7 separate regions of the Homo sapiens genome follow, and all the other regions are linked to region 1. Evidence: promoter capture Hi-C in 16 types of primary human blood cells and fetal thymus (Javierre and others, 2016). All regions are on one chromosome and are shown on one strand. The core of a region is centred on a gene start or on the middle of the fragment in contact, and the rest is flanking DNA. Distances in the headings are between cores, read along the strand shown.

Region 1 (2,667 bases), core at 78-2,577:
ACTGGGCTAGGGGTTACTACGGGGCCAAAACAGAAGAGTGATGAGGAGTTAGAGGCCACATTTCACCTCAAAGTTAAATGATTTGAAATTTATTCTGCTAGCAGTCGTCTACTGTTTGATTTTCAGCAGCAAATGATCTAAGCAAGACATTTATTTTTAAAATGTTAAAATATATCTTATTAAATATTACCAAAATAGTATGGGAAATGAAGAGACTGAATGTGTTACTAATCCCCAACTGAGAATGGAATTGTTCATTTGTGAAGCTTGATATTTCCCTGTATTTTTATTACTACTAAGCTATTATTTTTTACATTTGAGGTCAGAGCTTGGGTTGGTTTATGCCAAAGTGTCATCTCAGCTATCTGTGAGAAGCTCCATGTGTGGAGTGCAACAGGAGTCCCAGCCTGCTCTAGGATTTCCACGACCTGGCACTGCACTCACATGTCGTAGTAGCCGGGGCACACTGCCTTCTCCTGTCTGCATGTAGGTCTTTACCGAATACCAGGTCCCATTTTTAAATAAGAGGCTCCTTCTACTTGTTTGTCCCATGCTTCCCCTATTTATACTGCCTGAGAAATTGTTTTCCATCAGTAAAGCTGATTAGTCTTTTCTGTTTTCCCTTGATCTTTGTTAGCATCTGGGCTACAGAAGTTGTCCTCCTATATTAATCTGGGTATTTCGGTTTTGCTTTTCCAAAGGACAGCAAGCTCAGCCAGGCTGCCTCTCAGTTCCAAGGGAGTGCTCATTCCCTCCTTCCCCAGCCCTTGCTCTTTCCAAAAGGATGATTTCTGTCGTCCCAGGGCTTATCCCCTCCCACTCCAGCTCCTCCCATCATTTGAGTCAATCCCACAGCCCCCACTATGGCTCTATTATATAGTTGTCGTCTTCCCATAACCAAAAGGTTTTAACGCCAGCCTGGCAGCGTCTTTAGACTCTCGCACTCCCAAACTGTCCCCTCCTCCAGCTCGACTCCTCCGGGAGCGCGCGGCCACCGCTGCAAGCCCAGAACACAAACGCCTAGAGCTTCCTCCGCTTAGAAACCCGGGGCGCTTGGCCCCGCCTCACCTGCTTTCGGCCCCGCCCCGCCCGCCGCCGGCCTGCTCACGGCTCCTCCCGTCCTCCCCGAAGCCCCGCCTCTGACCCCGCCCTGTCCTGTCTCCGTCCCGCCCCACGCCCGCCAGCCAGCGTCGCTGTCTCTCGCCTTCCCTGAGGCCCCGCCTTCAGCCCCGCCTTCAACCCCGCCCCGTCCTGCCTCCGCCCCGCCCCCGCTTGCCGGCCCGCGTCGCCGTCTCACCCTCCCCGGGCTGCGCGGCCGGAGCTGGCACAGAGGATCCTCGGCCGCGGCGACATCACCGCCTGGGCACGCGGGCGCTGCTCTGGATACGGCGCCACCGAGAGAACCCGCCGCCCGCGGGTCTCTGTCCTGCGGTCCGTGGTTGCCCCCACAAGCGTCCGGCGTTTCCTGAGGGCGGGCGTGTCCGGGCCGTGCGGGTCGCGGGGACCGAGCGCGGCTGAGGAGACCGAGCTGGGGCAGCGCCTGCCGTAGCGCGGGAGACGACGCGGGGGTCTTGCGGAGCCCCGCGGGAGCCTGGCCCGCCGTGCAGAGCAGTTTTCTGGAACTCTCCACCTCCGTCTCCCTTGGGGCCCAGTGCGGCGCCGAGCCCCCGTCGGGATCTGCCTGAGGTAAGCGGACTTGGTGGCTCAGGGGTCTCTCGCCATCCTGCCTCACTCAGCCCCAGAGCGGGGAGCGGAGAATGGGGGCGGCAGGGTCGGAGGACGCCAGTGAAAAAATGCAACAGGCGGGGCGGATCAGGAAACTCCTAGCCTGAATGTTTCCTACAGAGGGGAGACTTGTCCAAGACTGAAACTTGCTTAGGTTCTTCCAGCCGCGGACGGGCACGGAGAGGCGTCTTTCGACACCGGGGTCCGAGCTCCCTCTGGCGGCTCCACCTGAGGACAGGGACTCGGCCACAGGTGAGCGCCGAGCGCGGAGCTCCCGCCCCTCGGCTTGGCGCCTGGTCACGATTCGCGGTTACCCCGCCGAGAAAAGTGACTGGTCCGAGTAGTTCTCATTAGGAAGATACCTTCTGATCCCATGAACTCTAAACCTTCCCCCGGAATTAAAAAAAAAAAAAAAAAAAAAGATCTTTTCAACTTTCAGTTTTTTGTCCCTCGGTCCTTGGGAACAAGAAATAACAAGGATAGCAGGACTCATCTTTGTGTAAACTGCATTTGAATACAAACATTTTTTAAGTGACTGAAGCCACGTTAGTGGCGTTAAACTATAGATATTGTCGGGAGAGTTCTATCTTGTATATTTTGTATTGTTAGTTGCTTGTCTTCTGCTGACGGTCACTGGTTTCCAAATAAGTGCGTGTAAATGGATAAGAAAAAAATCACTTGCCCTAGCTTAGGTTGCAGATAATATGAGATTTTACTGTGATTCTAAAATTTCTATTAAGTGATTGCAGAATGTTTAAGTCATCAGTTTATATTCATTCTCAGCATACCTGAAGCCTCAGAGAATTTTTATTTTGTCCCCCATCCCCAGAAAAGTGTCATGAAAAAAGAGCAGAAGAGAGACCTCACTGTTGCTGAAAGGGGAATTTTCTTTCCCCGTTGGCGGTTACTTCATGATCGGACGAGAAGTATCTAGGTGACTGA
Region 2 (2,667 bases), core at 113-2,612, 1.3 Mb before region 1:
ATGGAAAGCTTCCTTTTTTCTCTTATTCTTTGGCCTGTCTATGGATTATAGACTGAAGTCACTGAGAACTGCAGAATGTACTTACTCTGAGAATTGTTCATTTATTCCAAGAAAGTAAAAAGTATATGTTGTGTATATGTATATGGATAAGCGTGTTAAGACAGAACATGCATATCTTTAAAACTGACACCTTAGAATAGAAGTTTACATCTAGAAAAACACAGCTCTGCATTGCTCCTATTAGACTGCACTGGGGAAGTAATATTGTATGTGGGCTGGAGAGAAGTCTATAATTACCAAAAAGTTAAATGCTTCAAGAAGTAAAACCACGGAGATTAGAATGTGACTGAAATGTATAGGGCTAGATAAAATTGTCACTATGTGTACGAGCCTAAAAATTAAATTCATTTTTATTCTGTTTTCTACTAATGTTGGTTGCCTCTATTAGGAATTTACACTTGGTAGAGTAATAAATATTTATTCTGTACATAGATACTTGTATGATCACAATCTACTAATCTAGTGAAATACAGATGAAGAATCTGAAAAAGGGAATTGGTGGCACTAGTAAATTTCAGAGGGACTAATGAGAAACTTCTGGCAGAAAGTAAGTGGTAAAGAACTTACTGTATTTGTGAATGGCTAGCATGCATATTTATCCCTATTTCAGTCCATTCAAGCCAGGAAAATTAAAACTGTTATATAATATATACTTATATAATACATTGTGTGTATATATGCATACATATCCTTCTTGCTTTTCTGGTTCTGCCTATTAAGATTTTTATAACTAAGAGATAAAAAATAATTATTTTTAGATTTTGGAACCTTATTTATATATTAGATATTCCACATTGTGCTAATAAAATTGTAAGCTGATTGCATAGAAACGAAAATCCATATTGAACATTTCATATTACTATTCTCTTTCCCAGATGTTATTTGTTCTTGATCTTTATGAGAATTCACTGAGAAAGGCTATGACAGACTGTATTTTGCAAAGATCGTTGCCACAATGACTGCATCCCACACACCCTTATTATAAAATTGTTTTCACACTCCTTCCATTGAAAGTGCCTCTCTCTCTTTAATCTGAGTCAGACTTTGAGATTCTCACCACCGATAAGTGGGTCTGACTTTTGAGGCAGAATCATTCAAATGGCGTTTTCTTCTCTCTGTGTTCTTAAGATGTTCACTTGCAACCTAGCCCCAATGTTGTGAGGAAGCCAAGCACCCCCTTAAATAGCCCCAGTGCAGGTGTCCCAACTGAGGCATAGATGAAAACCGAGATGGACTGCCAGATATGAGTGAAAGAGGCTGCAGCCCCCAGCCTTCCATGCATTGCCAGCCTTTGAGCCCTTGCAACTGAAGGCACAAGTGAGAGATACAATGTCCATGCCAAGCCATGCTCGCGATTCTTGAACAGAAGACAGGGTGGTTGCTGTTGATATGTTTTAATGATAATTACTTGGAAAAGTTTGTTTCAAGATAATAGATAACTGGAACATAACAGCACTACAGCTATTTTCACAAAGGGGCAACAGCCAACATCACATAGCTAGAAGACATCAGACCAAAGATGAATATCCAGGCCAATTAAGCAAAAGCCTGATGCCCTTAATGGTCCATGTATAAGACTACTTTTTCTGTAATAAATATCTCACAAAATTGTGATTTTTCCACTATTAATATTAACATATTTATTCATTTTTACTGACCAAGTCCAAGATGCTGTCAAACTTAAATAATACACTGGATATTTTAACCTTGTACATTAAGAATTCATATACAATTAAAGTGAATCTACCAGAGAAGATAAAAACATAGTCATGATAAAAGTCAACTTAAAAGAATGGAAAACACTAACAAGTTATAAACTACATTTTAAAATTCAACATATGAATATATATCAAACTAATTTCTTTAAATCCTAAAACTTAATGACTAAACATGGATAAAATACATTATCAAATGACCAATCTATCTGTATTAACAATTTTAAGTGATTTGAAACTTAGACTTGGTTAAGGGAGACAATGATTAGCACTTACTCTCTTTCCTTCCATAAGATTTTTTGGAATTCATCCAAATGCACCTGCAAAGCTGAAATTTCAGTTACTTCATTTTCCAAAGGCAGATTTATTGCTTTCAGTCTCAGCCCAGTTTTCGTTTCACCGTTTCCAGAACCACCATTGTTGAATAAATCAACACCATCTAGATTGGGCTTCATCTCCTCACTTAATTTTAGAGAATCAATAACCACACCTTGTTCCTGAAGACAAAACAAAACAAAACATATTTAAACCTCCTGGAGAAAAATCATGATGACAAAACATTTTCATAAAGAAATAAATGTTACGATACCACAACCAATTCATATTTTTATTTCATTATCATTCCCTGAAAGTGTTGTGTGGCCACACTTACTTGCATTCTTCTTTGAGCTTGTTTTTTTCTATGTTCTACTTTCTCATAAAAAAAATACATTTCTCAAAAGTTCTGCTTTAACTCTTGTTTGTTCTCTTTTTCTAATCGCAGCTAAAAATAACTCTGCACAAACTTGAACAGCTGTAAATAATTTTTAATGAGTTGATGAATTCCTCTTTCAAGTTTCTTTTGTCATAAGACACTTACAGTTTCAAAGCAATCATTTTTTAACATTTTTGA
Region 3 (2,667 bases), core at 121-2,620, 1.2 Mb before region 1:
TCCTGTGCTGTATGATCTGCTGCCAGTTACTTCAGATTTGAAACACAGTGCCTTATTAAGGACTAAATGAATGATTGTCTATGGATTTTGGTGGACCAGATATAACGAATACTTAAGCACTGTCCATCCATTGCCAACCCATTGTCCTCATCCCACACTTGACGTGGGTAAGAATTTCCACTTCTTAAACCTGCACATTTCTCGGGAATTTTTGCAAAGATTAACTAAAAACTGTAAGACCTGATTTTAGGGAATGATATATGGACATATCACTGGGTCAGATGCAGGATGTGTTACTTTCCTCAAATTTCAGTAATGTAGTCCTTGTTTTACTGTTTTTATACAGCACTTTGTCTGCTAATGGACCACAGAAGCAGAAGTAGCCCTATTTCTAATCTTGCTTCTTTGTCCTAGGAGTTATTTAATCACCCATCTCTATTTTACTGCATGATTCTAAGAAAAGAGAAAGATAGATACATGTATTATGATATTTAAGAATAAACTTAGACATTGCAAAAATAGGAATCAAAATAATTGACACCTTAAATTGCTACTTGAATGTATCTATGGTTAATTCTTATCTCCTATGAATTAATATGTTTTAAAATTTTTTATGGAAAATTTTGTTCAATTGGATTTTCAGTCTTTCCTAACAAGCCAAAACTGCTATGTCCTTAAAAGACATAACATTCCAGATAATGATTACATTTGAAAATCTCACTAGCAATCATGAGAGTCACACATGTGCATCAGCTGGGTCTAGAAAACTAAAAAAAAGAAAGAAAGAAAGAAAAAGTATGAGTTACATCAGAATAAGTCTAAGAATCATATATGTTATATTAAATATGGTTGATAGAATATTAAGTAATGATTATATCTGAGAAGCCATGCTAATAACCCTGTACACAAATCACCGTGATGCAAATGTTTTCCACTTTTTCCAATGTCAATTAATTTTTGTTCTTGCTAAATGTTACTGATGTATATAATGGTATAAGCAAATCTACAGAATGATTCCAAAAGGGGCTATAAGGAGATAGATTATGTAAATTTAAAAATTACTATAGTCCCTTTGGCTTCCACTTATTTTCTCTTTCTATTTCTTTCTCTTTCTTTCTTGCTTTCTTCTTTCTTTCTTCCTCTCCTTCCTTCCTTTCTCTCTCTTTCTTCCTCTTTCTCCTTCCTTCCTTCTTTCCTTTCTCTTTCTCTTTCCTTCCTTCCTTCCTTTCTTTTCTTTCTTTCTTTTCTTTCTTTCTTTCTTTCTTTCTTTCTTTCTTTCTTTCTTTCTTTCTTTCTTTCCTTCCTTCCTTCCTTCCTTCCTTCCTTCCTTTCTTTCTTTTCTTTCTTTCTCTTTCTCTCCTTCCTCCTTCTTTAGCTCTTTTTCGCTCTTTCTTTCTTTCTTGACAAATTCTCACTCTGACACCCAGGCTGGAGTGTGTTGGCACTATTATAGCTTATTGCAGCCTCAAATTCCTGGGCTCAAGCAATCCCCCCCACTTCAGTCTCCAGAGTAGCTGGGATGACAGACATGCACCACCATCCCCAGCTTATTTATTTATTTATTTATTTATTTATTTAAGAGAGGGTTTCACTCTGTCACCCAGGCTGGAGTGCAGTGACACAATTACCACTCACTGCAGCCTCGAACTCCTGGACTCAGGTGATCCTCCTACCTCAGCCTCCAAGGTAGCTGGGACTACAGATCCGTGCCACCACGCCCAGCTATTTTTTTTTTTATCATTATTATTTGGCTAGAGACAGGGTCTCATTATGTTGCCCAGGCTGGTCTCAAACTCCTGGGCTCAACTGATGTGCCTGCCTTGGTCTCCCATTATTTTCTTATTATGTCACTTGCCAAATAAATTCTAGGCTAGAAAGTGTTGATGGATATTTTAAAATTTATTTGTAGTAAATTAGCTAACCCAACAATAATAAATTTAATGCTAACATTTTCTTCTTGAATATTTGGAGGTCAAAAATGTTATAAGAGATACACTGGCATTCTTTACAAGTCTGCCTATAACCAAGAATTTGCTAGCCTGGTGGTGCCTCACATCCCTAAGTAGTTTGAAGGTTATTGTTTATGTTTTTATCTTTATAATAATTGGCTATTGTGAAATAAAGAACTTTGGAATTTAAATCAGAGGACCTGGAATACAATTTGAGTCTGCCATATACTAACTGGGTAATCTTGAAAAACTGAATTACTTTCTCTGAGCCTTAGCTACTTATCTGTAAAACTAGAAGTCATGCAAACTTTCCTCATAGGGTTGTTGCACAGATAAATTGGAATAATACATTCAAAGAACTGTGAGTCGCCATGCAATGCTCTTCTATGGAGTCAGCATGATGTTATTATTAGTAATCATAGTAGTGTTATATGGAGCAGCTGGAATAAAATCCATTGGAAAAAAGTATACGGAAGGGAAATAACAGAAAGGAAATGACAGCAAGAAATGTTGCCTTGTTGGAGGCAAGAGTGTAGTGAATCAAATTTCAAACAAAGAGTACTTAAGATCCTTGGCTTTTGAATGTTAAGATTTTGAATCTAAGCCCAGCTGTCATCATCATTATCTGTCTAATCTTGAGAAAATTCTCTCAATTTCCTGATTAAAAAAAGTAAGGGTAATGGAGTTCTTATGAAGCTATGAGAATAGAAAGCAACGA
Region 4 (2,667 bases), core at 102-2,601, 1.2 Mb before region 1:
AGATCCCACTTGTCAATTTTGGCTTTTGTTGCTATCGCTTTTGCTGTTTTAGACATGAAGTCCTTGCCCATGCCTATGTCCTGAATGGTATTGCCTAGGTTTTATTCTAGGGTTTTTATGGTTTTAGGTCTAGGAAGTTCTGACCAGGGCAATCAGGCAGGAGAAAGAAAGAAAGGGTATTCAATTAGGAAAAGAGGAAGTCAAATTGTCGCTGTTTGCAGATGACATGATTGTATATTTAGAAAACCCCATCGTCTCAGCCCAAAACCCCCTTAAGGTGGTAAGCAACTTCAGCAAAGTCTCAGGATACAAAATCAGTGTGCAAAAATCACAAGCATTCTTATACACCAATAACAGACAAACAGAGAGCCAAATCATGAGTGAACTCCCATTCACAATTGCTTCAAAGAGAATAAAATACCTAAGAATCCAACTTACAAGGGATGTGAAGGACCTCTTCAAGGAGAACTGCAAACCACTGCTCAATGAAATAGAAGAGGACACAAACAAATGGAAGAACATTCCATGCTCATGGATAGGAAGAATCAATATCGTGAAAATGGCCATACTGCCCAAGGTAATTTATAGATTCAATGCCATCCCCATCAAGCTACCAATGACTTTCTTCACAGTATTGGAAAAAACGACTTTAAAGTTCATATGGAACCAAAAAAGAGCCCACATTGCCAAGACAATCCTAAGCCAAAAGAACAAAGCTGGAGGCATCACACTACCTGACTTCAAACTATACTACAAGGCTACAGTAACCAAAACAGCATGGTACTGGTACCAAAACAGAGATATAGACCAATGGAACAGAACAGAGCCCTCAGAAATAATACCACACATCTACAACCATGTGATCTTTGACAAATCTGACAAAAACAAGAAGTGGGGAAAAGATTCCCTATTTAATAAATGGTGATGGGAAAACTGGCTAGCCATATGTAGAAAGCTGAAACTGGATCCCTTCCTTACACCTTACACAAGAATTAATTCAAGATGGATTAAAGACTTAAATGTTAGACCTAAAACCATGCATGTCCCATTCTTATTCCATTTCCCTCCTATGCTTTTCTCTGCCACACATTGCCAGTCAAATCCACTATTCTGGGTTATTTGGAGTTTATCATCCTACGCATGTTGTTATACTTTTACTACATAAATAATTTACACTTTAGAGTTCCATTGCAGAAAACAGAATCTGCTTTAGCTAGGTTGAAAAAGGGATGTCTTACTACATATTAAATAGCTTGTAAAACAGGAAGGGCTAAAGCACTCGGCTTTAGGCTATGTTTCCAGGAATGACTCCAGAACATATTACCTACAAAGCATTTGGGTAATGTGCTATCATTGCTGCCAGAAGTTGCTGATAGAGGAGGTTGCTATCCCTACTGCTGATGAAAGAATTGAAAATTACTCCGTTGGGAAAAGAGCTGTTTGAAACTGTCAAATTAGGAAATTTCTGCCACCATGCTGACTACAAAACTACCAGTTAGTAAAATGGATGCCTAGCACTCATCCTGTTTGCTCATGCTGTAGATTTTATATTCAGGTCTAATCTCATCAGGATGCATACAATGAGAAAATCCTCAATTGTATCTGGAACTCTAGTTCAGGCAGTCAGACAAGGGGTTAATATCCAGATTATATAATGGAATTCTACAACTCAATAGCAAACACACACACACACACACACACACACACACACACACACACACACACACACACCAGTTTAATAATGGACAAAGTACCTAAATAGATGTTTCTCCAAAGAAGACATATAAATGGCCATCAAGTATATGAAAAGGTGCTCAACATCACTAATTATCAGGGAAACGAAAATCAAAACCACAATGAGATATCATCTCACATTTGTCAGGCTATTACCAAAAGCAGAAAAGATAACAAGCATTTGTGAGCATATAGAGATAATGGAACCCTTGTAACAGTGTTGGTGGAAATTTAAAATGGTGAAATGACTAGGGAAAACAGAATAGAGGTTTCTCAAAAAATTAAAAATAGAGCTACTATACAATTCAGCAATCCCATTGCTGGGTATATAACTAAAGGCATTAAAATGAAGATCTCAAAGAGACATCTGAACTCCCATGTTCATCGCAACATTATTCACAGTGGCCAACACCCAACAACCTAATGTCCATTGCAAGATGAACGGAAAAAATGTGATATATACATATAATGATGTATCACTGTATTCAGCTTTGAAAAGAAGAAGGTCCTGCCATATGTGACAACTTGGATGAACCTGGAGTACATTATGCTAAGTGCAATAAACCAGTCATAGAAGGTGAAATACTGCATGATTCCATGTACATAAAGTGTCTATAATAGCCAAACTCATAGAAATAGAGAATAGAATGGCAGTTGCTAGGGGCTAGATGGGGATAGGAAGATAGAAAATTGTTGTTTAATGGGTATAAAGTTTAGGTTAGGCAAGATGAATAAATTTTAGAAATCTGTACAACACCATGCCTGCAGCTAACAATACTATATTATGCACTTTAAAATTAAAAGTTTGTTTCCAGGATATGATCCTGCAGAACATTATGTTAAGTAAAATAAGACAGGAAGAGAAAGACAAATACTCTGTGTTCTCCCTCATATGTGGGAGAGAAAGAAAAATATCTCATAGAAGTAGAGAAT
Region 5 (2,667 bases), core at 107-2,606, 1.2 Mb before region 1:
TCAGACCCACCTCATTAAATCCCCTTCACTGCTTGGGGCTGATGTGGTTGGCTTTGGCTCCATTTCTGAGCTGTTTTAGTTCAGAAAGACTTGCGAATTTACATAAAGATCATTAACTGAGTCTACTTTTTCTCTGAGTCGCTCTAGCCTTAGCATAACCTTCCCCACCAACTTTTCTATCTTTCTTTTTCATATAGTTCTCCTTATACATTGGATGTCTTTATTTTGTCCCTAGGCTAAATCAGTCTATGGAAGTCCGCAGCCCAGGAATCTGGAAGGGAGCTCCACACTTGTGCGATGGATGTTTAGCCATGATGGTCCCTGGTCTGTAAAACTTGTAACTGGCATAGCAAGGATGACTCAAAATCATAGTTTTTTAATACATAGATCTGGGAACTATGGTATCCTAAAAATTTTAAGAGAAAACTGGAAAACCTTAACTCTAAATAGATGAATTCATGTTGTCTGCAGGCAGGTGAGGGTTACAAAAGAAAGATCACTATGAGACATTTCTGTAGAAAGCCTTCAAGTAGGCCGGGCGCTGTGGGTCATGCCTGTAATCCCAGTACTTTGGGAGGCTGAGGCAGGCAGATCGCCTGAGGTCAGGAGTTCAAGACCAGCCTGGCCAACATGGTGAAACCCCGTCTCTACTAAAAATAAAAAAAAATTAGCTGAGCATGATGGTGGGTGCCTGTAATCCCAGCTACTCGGGAGGCTGAGGCAGAGAATTGCTTGAACTTGGGAGGCGGAGGTTGCAATGAGCTGAGATCACGCCACTGCACTCCAGCCTGGGTGACAGAGCAACACTCCATCCCAAAAAAGAGAGAGAGAAAAAAAAAGAAGGCCTTCAAGAAATGCCAGATACACATTTCAAGGAATAAGACTTCAAGCTATGGTTATTATTAACCAAACAGTTTATGGTATCCACCATAGAAATACTAGAAATAATTTAAAATACACAGGGCGATAGAAGAAAAGCCCTGTGCTTCCATAAAAACTGGCCCACAGGAAAGAGATTGAAGATTCCCCCCTGAAGCAGTGTATTTTACTGAAATTAACTTCTCCATTTTCTGAACTTTAATGTTTGAGTAACTCAAAATATATCAACATGAATAAAGTTCCTCAGAGTAGAGTACTAAAGCCAAAGGACTGAGAAAGGACTTTTATGTGAGAAAAATAGTCAGTATTTAGCAGATGCTATAACTTAAATCTCAATAACTGTAAGCCATTCTCCTTTGATATGTGTTCAGTTTTATAAAAATAAATAAAGATTTATTTCCTCCAAAAAGAGCTTTGCTTGCACTAATTCGTACAATTTTCTGTACTTTTACTGAAGTAGAAATGGTGTTCAGAGATTTCAAAATCTCAAGACTATTGTCTGTCTGAAGAGTTTTGCTCCAAATGAATTTGACAACTGATATATAACTGAATGAGCATTATTGTATAGGAGATCATATAACATATATTATATTATATACACACATAGACAAAATTGTTTATATCATATATGTATACATACATATACAAAATTGTTTATATTATATTATATATGTATACATACATATATAAAATTGTTTATCCCTCTGGCCACTAAAATGACCTTGAGGCAATGGAACCTCAGATGGGACCAACCTAATATGCAAATGTAGAGTCCAGATTATAGTTCCTCAAAAATCAATTTTCCATGAAAAGAAGCCAGGGTATTTTGGAAGGATCACGGATTCCAAGTCGGGGGAAGGAAAGGATAAGGGAGTGTGCAAGTTTTCATATAAGCCAAAGTTTCATTCAAGGGTTAATGGAATCAGATCAAAAGGACACAGGAACTAGATTATAGGGGTTTGTGATCATCTCAGCATCGAAAATAGAAAAATACTTATGGTTAACTCAAATACATTAAATCTATGTGGTGGCTCACCTCTGTAATCCCAGCACTTTGGGAGGCCGAGGCGGGCAGATCATGAGGTCAGGAGTTCAAGACCAGCCTGGCCAACATGGTGAAACCCTGTCTCTACTAAAAATACAAAAATTAGCCGGGGTGGTGGCGCATGTCTGTAGTCCTAGCTACTTGGGAAGCTGAGACAGAAGAATCGCTTGATCCCGGGAGGCAGAAGTTGGAGCGAGCCAAGATCGCGCCATTGCACTCCAGCCTGGCAACAGAGTGAAACTCCGTCTCAAGAAAAATAAATAAATAAAATTTAAAAAATAAACATCTTAAATCCATAATGACCAGCCCAAATAAATATTAATTTAAATGTGCCAAAGAAGATCAAGATATCAGAATATTTCTGCTGAAATCTTATTACTCAGTCCTTTTGATACTGTTGATACCTTTCTTATATTGATACAGGATGCGGAATACAGTTCAGTATTAAATACATCATGTAGAAGACATTTTCTGACTCAAGGGATTGACTTCTTAAGTGTGACATTCAGTCAGATGAAGATATATGAGACATCCATAACCAATCTACTATTACTTTTTAAATCAGTAGGATTTGCCTACTTTAAGTATATGAACGAGTGTGAGATTACATTAATGTTTAACATTTTTAAAATTCAGGGAAAAGATGATAACAGATCATAAGTGTTCTAGTCAATTGCTTATCTTGAGTAAGCTGCATCTATCTATCAGCAGACAGAAGTATTACATGAGTGGGTCACACTGTT
Region 6 (2,667 bases), core at 91-2,590, 1.2 Mb before region 1:
ATTCTAGAATGTGTTTTTCTTACTGAATTCTATGTGACAGAAAGGAACCTAGGACTAGATGAGAGCAGTAGAGTTTTAATTGCTGAAATAATTCAAATGAGTAGAAGACTTTTCAATAAAAAGGAACAATTTGTTTTATTATAAGTAGCATTTTAATTGTTTTGACAGTCATAAGACTACATTTCTGATTTTTATTGTCTTTAAATAAATGTGAGAGCTGAATTTTATTTGTTTCTATAGATAATAACTACACACTTATGCTGTCATATAAAAGGTACTATCTACATACTTGACATTTTCATTTTATTTACAAAGTAATCTGTGAGGTAGGTAATAAGGCAGATAGATTAATACCCCAGGATTACAAAGGATATAGCTAAGAATGTTAGATAAGGAGACAGGTGTGTAATTAAATAGCAGGTTTATCATATGCTTATTCAGCCATCCATTAATTGGATGTTTATTGAATGTCTGTATTAGACGTTGGGCTTATAAAAGAACTTCAGAGAAACTTGTGTATTTGAAAATATGAGAAGGAAAATAATTTGTAGCCACACCTAGTCTATTCACCTGCTCTTTGCTTGCAGTACTCCTCATATAATAAGTACTTAATGTATGTGATCTTATATTTGATCATTACAACATTCCCTTAAAATCACTATTCTTACCATTTTACAGATAAAGAAACAGGATTAAAGAGATTTTTTTTCCACGATAAAATAATCAATGATATCAAAATTCAGTCTTCAAATCTCATGTTCTTATTCCACTATGTGTTTCTTAGCAATTCAGAGAGGCACTTTGTTTCTTCCTTTAAAAAAAAAAAAACACTGATCATATCTGTTTAAATATAAACATATTTAAATATAAACAGATATCAGGTTTTTGAGCCTGCCTAGGAAAGCATCCCCCTGTTATAGCTCAGTGTTTCAGATACATTCTCCCACGCTTAAGGAAGACAGGAATATGATATGTTAAGTTTCTGTAGGTATTGTAAAGGCCCCATTTCTCTAACCTGCAGTAGTATTTAGAACCTGCCTGAAACATTCAGACAAAGCAAAGGCTTTACTTTGAATCCTTATTTAAATATTTAATTGTTGCTAATGTTTAGAAGCATTGGAATAGGGACTTGGGAGTATATTTCCTTTCTTACATATATAATTTCAGCTTTTATTTTAGATTCAGAGTCTACATGTGCAGGTTTGTTACATGGGTGTATTGGATGATGCTGAGGTTTGGGGTACAAATGATCCCGTCACCCAGGTAATAAGCATAGTACCCAACAGGTAGTTTTTTTAGCCCTTGTCCTCCTCCCCATCTCCCTAGTGTCTGTTATTCCCATCTTTATGTCCGTATGTACCCAATGTTTACCGCCCACTTATAAATGAGAACTTGCGATATTTGGGATAGTTTATTTTCGAATGAAATTCAAATTGATCACTGTATGCAATCTCGTAGAAAATTTGCTTTTAGCATGCAGTGGACATTGTGGCCCAGTAATCAATTTCTAGTTTTATGTTTATTTTCCTAATTTATAAATTTAAATCAATAAATTCTTTGAGATTTGCATTGCATCACTTATTTTATGGGTTTGATAACTTGAAAATGTTTTGTTTAGCAATGCAAGAAAAAGCATACCTTTGAAGAGGTCATTAAAATCCATTCTTCAACCAGATGTATTGGTAGGCTTTTATAGACATTTGCTTTACATCACCACCTTTTTTATGCAATTGTAATAATTTTGAACAATTACTTGAGAATTACATTTCTAATTAGGATGTAATATTTCTCTTAGATATTATATTTTCTATCTGCTTAGCAGAGGAATTATTTTATATTGGAAAAAAGCTAAGGTACTATGATTTTATATGTGTTTGTGTTAGTTGTACCTTTGAGAAAGAGTTGTAAACTAGGAAGACTATCATAAAGAGAGGAGAGCAAAGAAATTGTAATAAAAATTACCTGTAGTGCCATGACCCAAGTATAACCATTGATTCAGGGAAACCATTTAGGAATAACTGACTTCATTTTATCATTCTATGAGTTTATCTTTTCATACTTTCTTTTACGAAGTTACAGTTATGCTGTTATGTATTGTATTGTAACCTGTATTGTTTTGTAATCTGTTCAATTATAAGTTTTTTTGAAAATTTATAAATGATCTTTATCGACATATACCAAAATTTATTTAAATTATTTCCAATTTAGGATATTTTGATTATTTCCTTTATTTTTAATTATTTTTATGCTATTTTTAATGATGCTATAATGAAGATTGCTTTGTGCATTAATCCTTCTGTACATTTGATTGTATGCTTGCAATAAATTCCTAAAAACAATATTTATGGAAGTATGATTCTCTGTCAGGCGTTTTATACCTATTATCAGATTAAAGCTATTATAACTCTTAAATTCATATTTATACTGTAATTTGTCAACTTTGTCTTGGTTTTAAGAGTATGAAGATGGTGATCTGTCATCATGGATCAACAGGGAAAGGTTTCAGAATTACCTTGCTATGGATGGCTTCCTCTTGTATGAACTTGGAGACACAGGTAACAAGCATATGTACAAGTCTCCATTATGTTACATGATTTTTCTTTGATTATTTAAAAATCTTATTTTGTAGGAAATGAATTTAAGCTCTATTTCTCAACTTAATTTTTT
Region 7 (2,667 bases), core at 124-2,623, 1.1 Mb before region 1:
CTCTTTAAAAATGTAAAAACCTTTCTTAGCTTAAGAGCTCTTCAAAAATAGGATACAGGCTGGATTCAGCTTGCAAGTTTTCCTGGTATAGAGGGAAAAAGTACTCACCAGGTCCATAGTCACATGCCAGATACAAGGGGATGTGTGAATTTCCTCTAGCAAAGCCACATTTGGAACAACAGCTGCAACTGGAGTCCCCATCTGATTAAATTTTCAATAATCGGCTTTCATTCTCCAATATCCATTTGCTATCTACACAGACAAAATAGATGAATAGAATGGAATCCCCACCCCTGCATCTCTCGAGTCCTTGATGGTGGCAACAATCTCTGCACTCCAGGAATGTGTACTACCTTGGGTTTACTATTGTCAAAGGCAGGGGCCGTTCCAGTGGCTTCCGTTTTGCTCTCTTTTCACTCCATGGTCAGGTACACACGGGAATTCTGCAAGTTATTTGCAGATGCTGTAACCATTCTGGTGCTAGGAAAATAATCAGAAGGTGGCCCACTGTGAGGCAGACTCCAGCTAACACTCCATCAGTTATCTGACAGCCACAATTTCCTACTCTGACCGGTGACCACAGGAAGTATTGTCAGTTTAGAACCATGAAATAAATCCTATAATTCCTCAAGATCTGATCATTTTTTCTTACCCAAAGCTGTCATTATGTTAAATAGATTGAGTCCTTGGGTGGGATCATAAAGAGGATGATTTGCAGGTGTAAATTATTTTTGTTTTGCTATGCAGCAGTGTCTTTTTTTCAATGGGATGGCTTCAGGCTTTCTTCACCCTGCCTCAGGGGTAAGAATTTGGGCACAGGGCAGCCATTTCAGCGGCTTTGAGTGTATGAAATGTAAATTAATTGAGGGACATGACTCTCATTTTGGTTATTCAATTCAGACTTCAGTTCAACAGACTACAGCTTTTCCGCTTAATCAGGCCAAGTAAAATTTCACTGGACTGTCCATCAGTTTCAGTTCTAGTTTGACTATCAGACGTTATACAATTGGCCATTCCAGTAACTCACCTTGTCTTCAGTGACTAAGTGCCCTCACTTGGCTCTGTTGGAGCTCAGGAAATATTAATAATCCCCTTAAATATGCCGCTTTGGACTTCAAAATGAGAGCTCCTAGGGAACAGCAAATGCAGGGATGGGCTTTCCCTGAAGTATTCCCATCTACTAAAGGCCAGATCCTCCAGAACATAGTCAATTGTTGTGAATCCCTTCCCCAGATGTCTTATCAACAGGGTGAGACTGAGGCATATCACAGAAAGAAGACTACAGTTGACACCACACCTAGAGTCCAGATGACTTTGTACCAGATGGTTGTCTGTTTTCCAGGCCCACTCATCTGCTCTAAAAGTTATTTTCTCCCCCTCTAACATGTCTTCATCCTCTACTCCTTCTCCCGATGAAGAAGGGCACATAGCCTTCCAAATTCCATTGTTATGGAGTCCTCAGCTTCCTGTGATGCCCCCGTGCACATAATAAATGTGTTTGCCTTTTTCCTGTTAATTGGTCTATTGTCAGTTTTTCTGTCAGACTCAAATATTAAAACTCCAGAGGGGAAAGAAAGGATTCTTTTGTTCCAACAGCTCCCAACAGCTTCCGCCATCCTGGAATCCCATTCCTTCTCTTGGGTAGAGAGCCCACTTCAGTGTAGCAGTTTCCTTGTGATTTCCGACTTACAGAAGAGAGAACTCTTCAAAAATGCTGGAGCTTCCCCCTTGAGTTGATTTCTCACAGCTGTGAGGAAAGATATGTCTTCTAGGTCTTTCCAGAGCAGGTCATACTTGATAAATCCACACTAACATTCCAATATCCCTAGACCTTTATTTAGACAGCTGTATTTAAAGACAGCTTTATTCATATACCATAAAATTTAACCTTTTAAATTGCACAGTGTTGTTGTTTTATTTATATACATTCCCATACTTATGTAACTGTAACCACTACCTAATTTTAGGATATTTCATCACATCAAAAGGAACCCTGTTCCCATTAGCAGTCACTCCCTTTTCTTTATATTCCTCATCCCTCACCAACCAGCCCTAGGCAAACTTTAACCTATTCTGTATGAAGGTTCCAATTTATTCAAATCCTTGCCAAAACTTATTGTTTGTCTCTTTTATTTTAATCATCTTAAAGGGTATAACATGTCGTCTGTAGTTTTGATATGCATTTCCTTAGTGACTAATAATTTGAGTATCTTCTTATGTGCATGTTGGCCACTTGTCTGTCTTCTTTAGATAAGTTTCTATTCAGATCCCTTGCCCATTAAAAAACTGGATTATCCTTCACTTATTAGGTTTTAGGATTTATTTATATTTTGATACAAACCCTTGGGTTTCAGTCAATATGAATGGGCAAAATAATGCCATTCTTTCAGTTGGCCTTATACCTCCTCACTGGTCACACGTAAATTTTCATAAATTGGGGCCTGTTGGCAACTACCTCCAGGAAGGAGGTAACTACAGGTGTTTTTGGCCAAAGAGGACAAACTTCTGCACAGAGTTGAGAAAGCTGCTTCTACCAACAAAGGGTGCTCGGTGGGATTCGGTGTTCGAGGTGCCCAGTTTAATCAGAATCTCTCCACATGTTCTCACGCCAGTTTTCAGGATTTCATTCACTCTCAGTTCAGTAACCCAACTTCAGCAAAAGAGGAT

The links. Contacts are between HindIII fragments. The CHiCAGO score rates a contact against its expected background, and 5 or more counts as called.
Region 2: a fragment that was not itself captured here is called in contact with the fragment with the promoter of DSEL in region 1 in 2 of 17 cell types (M2 macrophages and monocytes); the score reaches 10.1 in M2 macrophages.
Region 3: a contact is called between a fragment that was not itself captured here and the fragment with the promoter of DSEL in region 1, in 1 of 17 cell types (monocytes). The highest score is 6.0, in monocytes.
Region 4: a fragment that was not itself captured here is called in contact with the fragment with the promoter of DSEL in region 1 in 3 of 17 cell types (total CD4 T cells, total B cells and naive B cells); the score reaches 7.3 in total CD4 T cells.
Region 5: a contact is called between a fragment that was not itself captured here and the fragment with the promoter of DSEL in region 1, in 14 of 17 cell types (total B cells, naive CD4 T cells, total CD4 T cells and 11 more). The highest score is 13.5, in total B cells.
Region 6: a contact is called between a fragment that was not itself captured here and the fragment with the promoter of DSEL in region 1, in 5 of 17 cell types (naive CD4 T cells, total B cells, total CD4 T cells and 2 more). The highest score is 12.7, in naive CD4 T cells.
Region 7: a contact is called between a fragment that was not itself captured here and the fragment with the promoter of DSEL in region 1, in 16 of 17 cell types (naive CD8 T cells, total B cells, naive B cells and 13 more). The highest score is 28.2, in naive CD8 T cells.

Annotation. Positions count from the first base shown.
Region 1 is chr18:67,515,380-67,518,046 of GRCh38, reverse strand. DSEL (dermatan sulfate epimerase like) reads left to right here and starts at 1,327. Exons shown (of 2, transcript NM_032160.3): 1 at 1,327-1,686; 2 at 2,555-2,667. It overlaps DSEL-AS1 (DSEL antisense RNA 1), which reads right to left and starts at 1,501. Exons shown (of 5, transcript NR_033921.1): 1 at 1,298-1,501. The HindIII fragment of the contact is 6,208 bases long and covers 269-2,667 here.
Region 2 is chr18:68,838,311-68,840,977 of GRCh38, reverse strand. It overlaps CCDC102B (coiled-coil domain containing 102B), which reads right to left. Exons shown (of 8, transcript NM_024781.3): 3 at 2,052-2,272. Among named protein-coding and RNA genes, the nearest start is that of CCDC102B, 42 kb to the right of the region's middle. The HindIII fragment of the contact is 2,704 bases long and covers 11-2,667 here.
Region 3 is chr18:68,763,957-68,766,623 of GRCh38, reverse strand. It overlaps a transcript of CCDC102B not described here. Among named protein-coding and RNA genes, the nearest start is that of CCDC102B, 33 kb to the left of the region's middle. The HindIII fragment of the contact is 4,499 bases long and covers 1-2,667 here.
Region 4 is chr18:68,747,270-68,749,936 of GRCh38, reverse strand. It overlaps a transcript of CCDC102B not described here. Among named protein-coding and RNA genes, the nearest start is that of TMX3, 33 kb to the right of the region's middle. The HindIII fragment of the contact is 5,566 bases long and covers 1-2,667 here.
Region 5 is chr18:68,730,512-68,733,178 of GRCh38, reverse strand. It overlaps a transcript of CCDC102B not described here. Among named protein-coding and RNA genes, the nearest start is that of TMX3, 17 kb to the right of the region's middle. The HindIII fragment of the contact is 4,512 bases long and covers 1-2,667 here.
Region 6 is chr18:68,687,555-68,690,221 of GRCh38, reverse strand. TMX3 (thioredoxin related transmembrane protein 3) reads left to right here. Exons shown (of 16, transcript NM_019022.5): 10 at 2,457-2,555. Among named protein-coding and RNA genes, the nearest start is that of TMX3, 26 kb to the left of the region's middle. The HindIII fragment of the contact is 8,208 bases long and covers 1-2,667 here.
Region 7 is chr18:68,657,795-68,660,461 of GRCh38, reverse strand. No RefSeq gene overlaps it. Among named protein-coding and RNA genes, the nearest start is that of TMX3, 56 kb to the left of the region's middle. The HindIII fragment of the contact is 9,597 bases long and covers 1-2,667 here.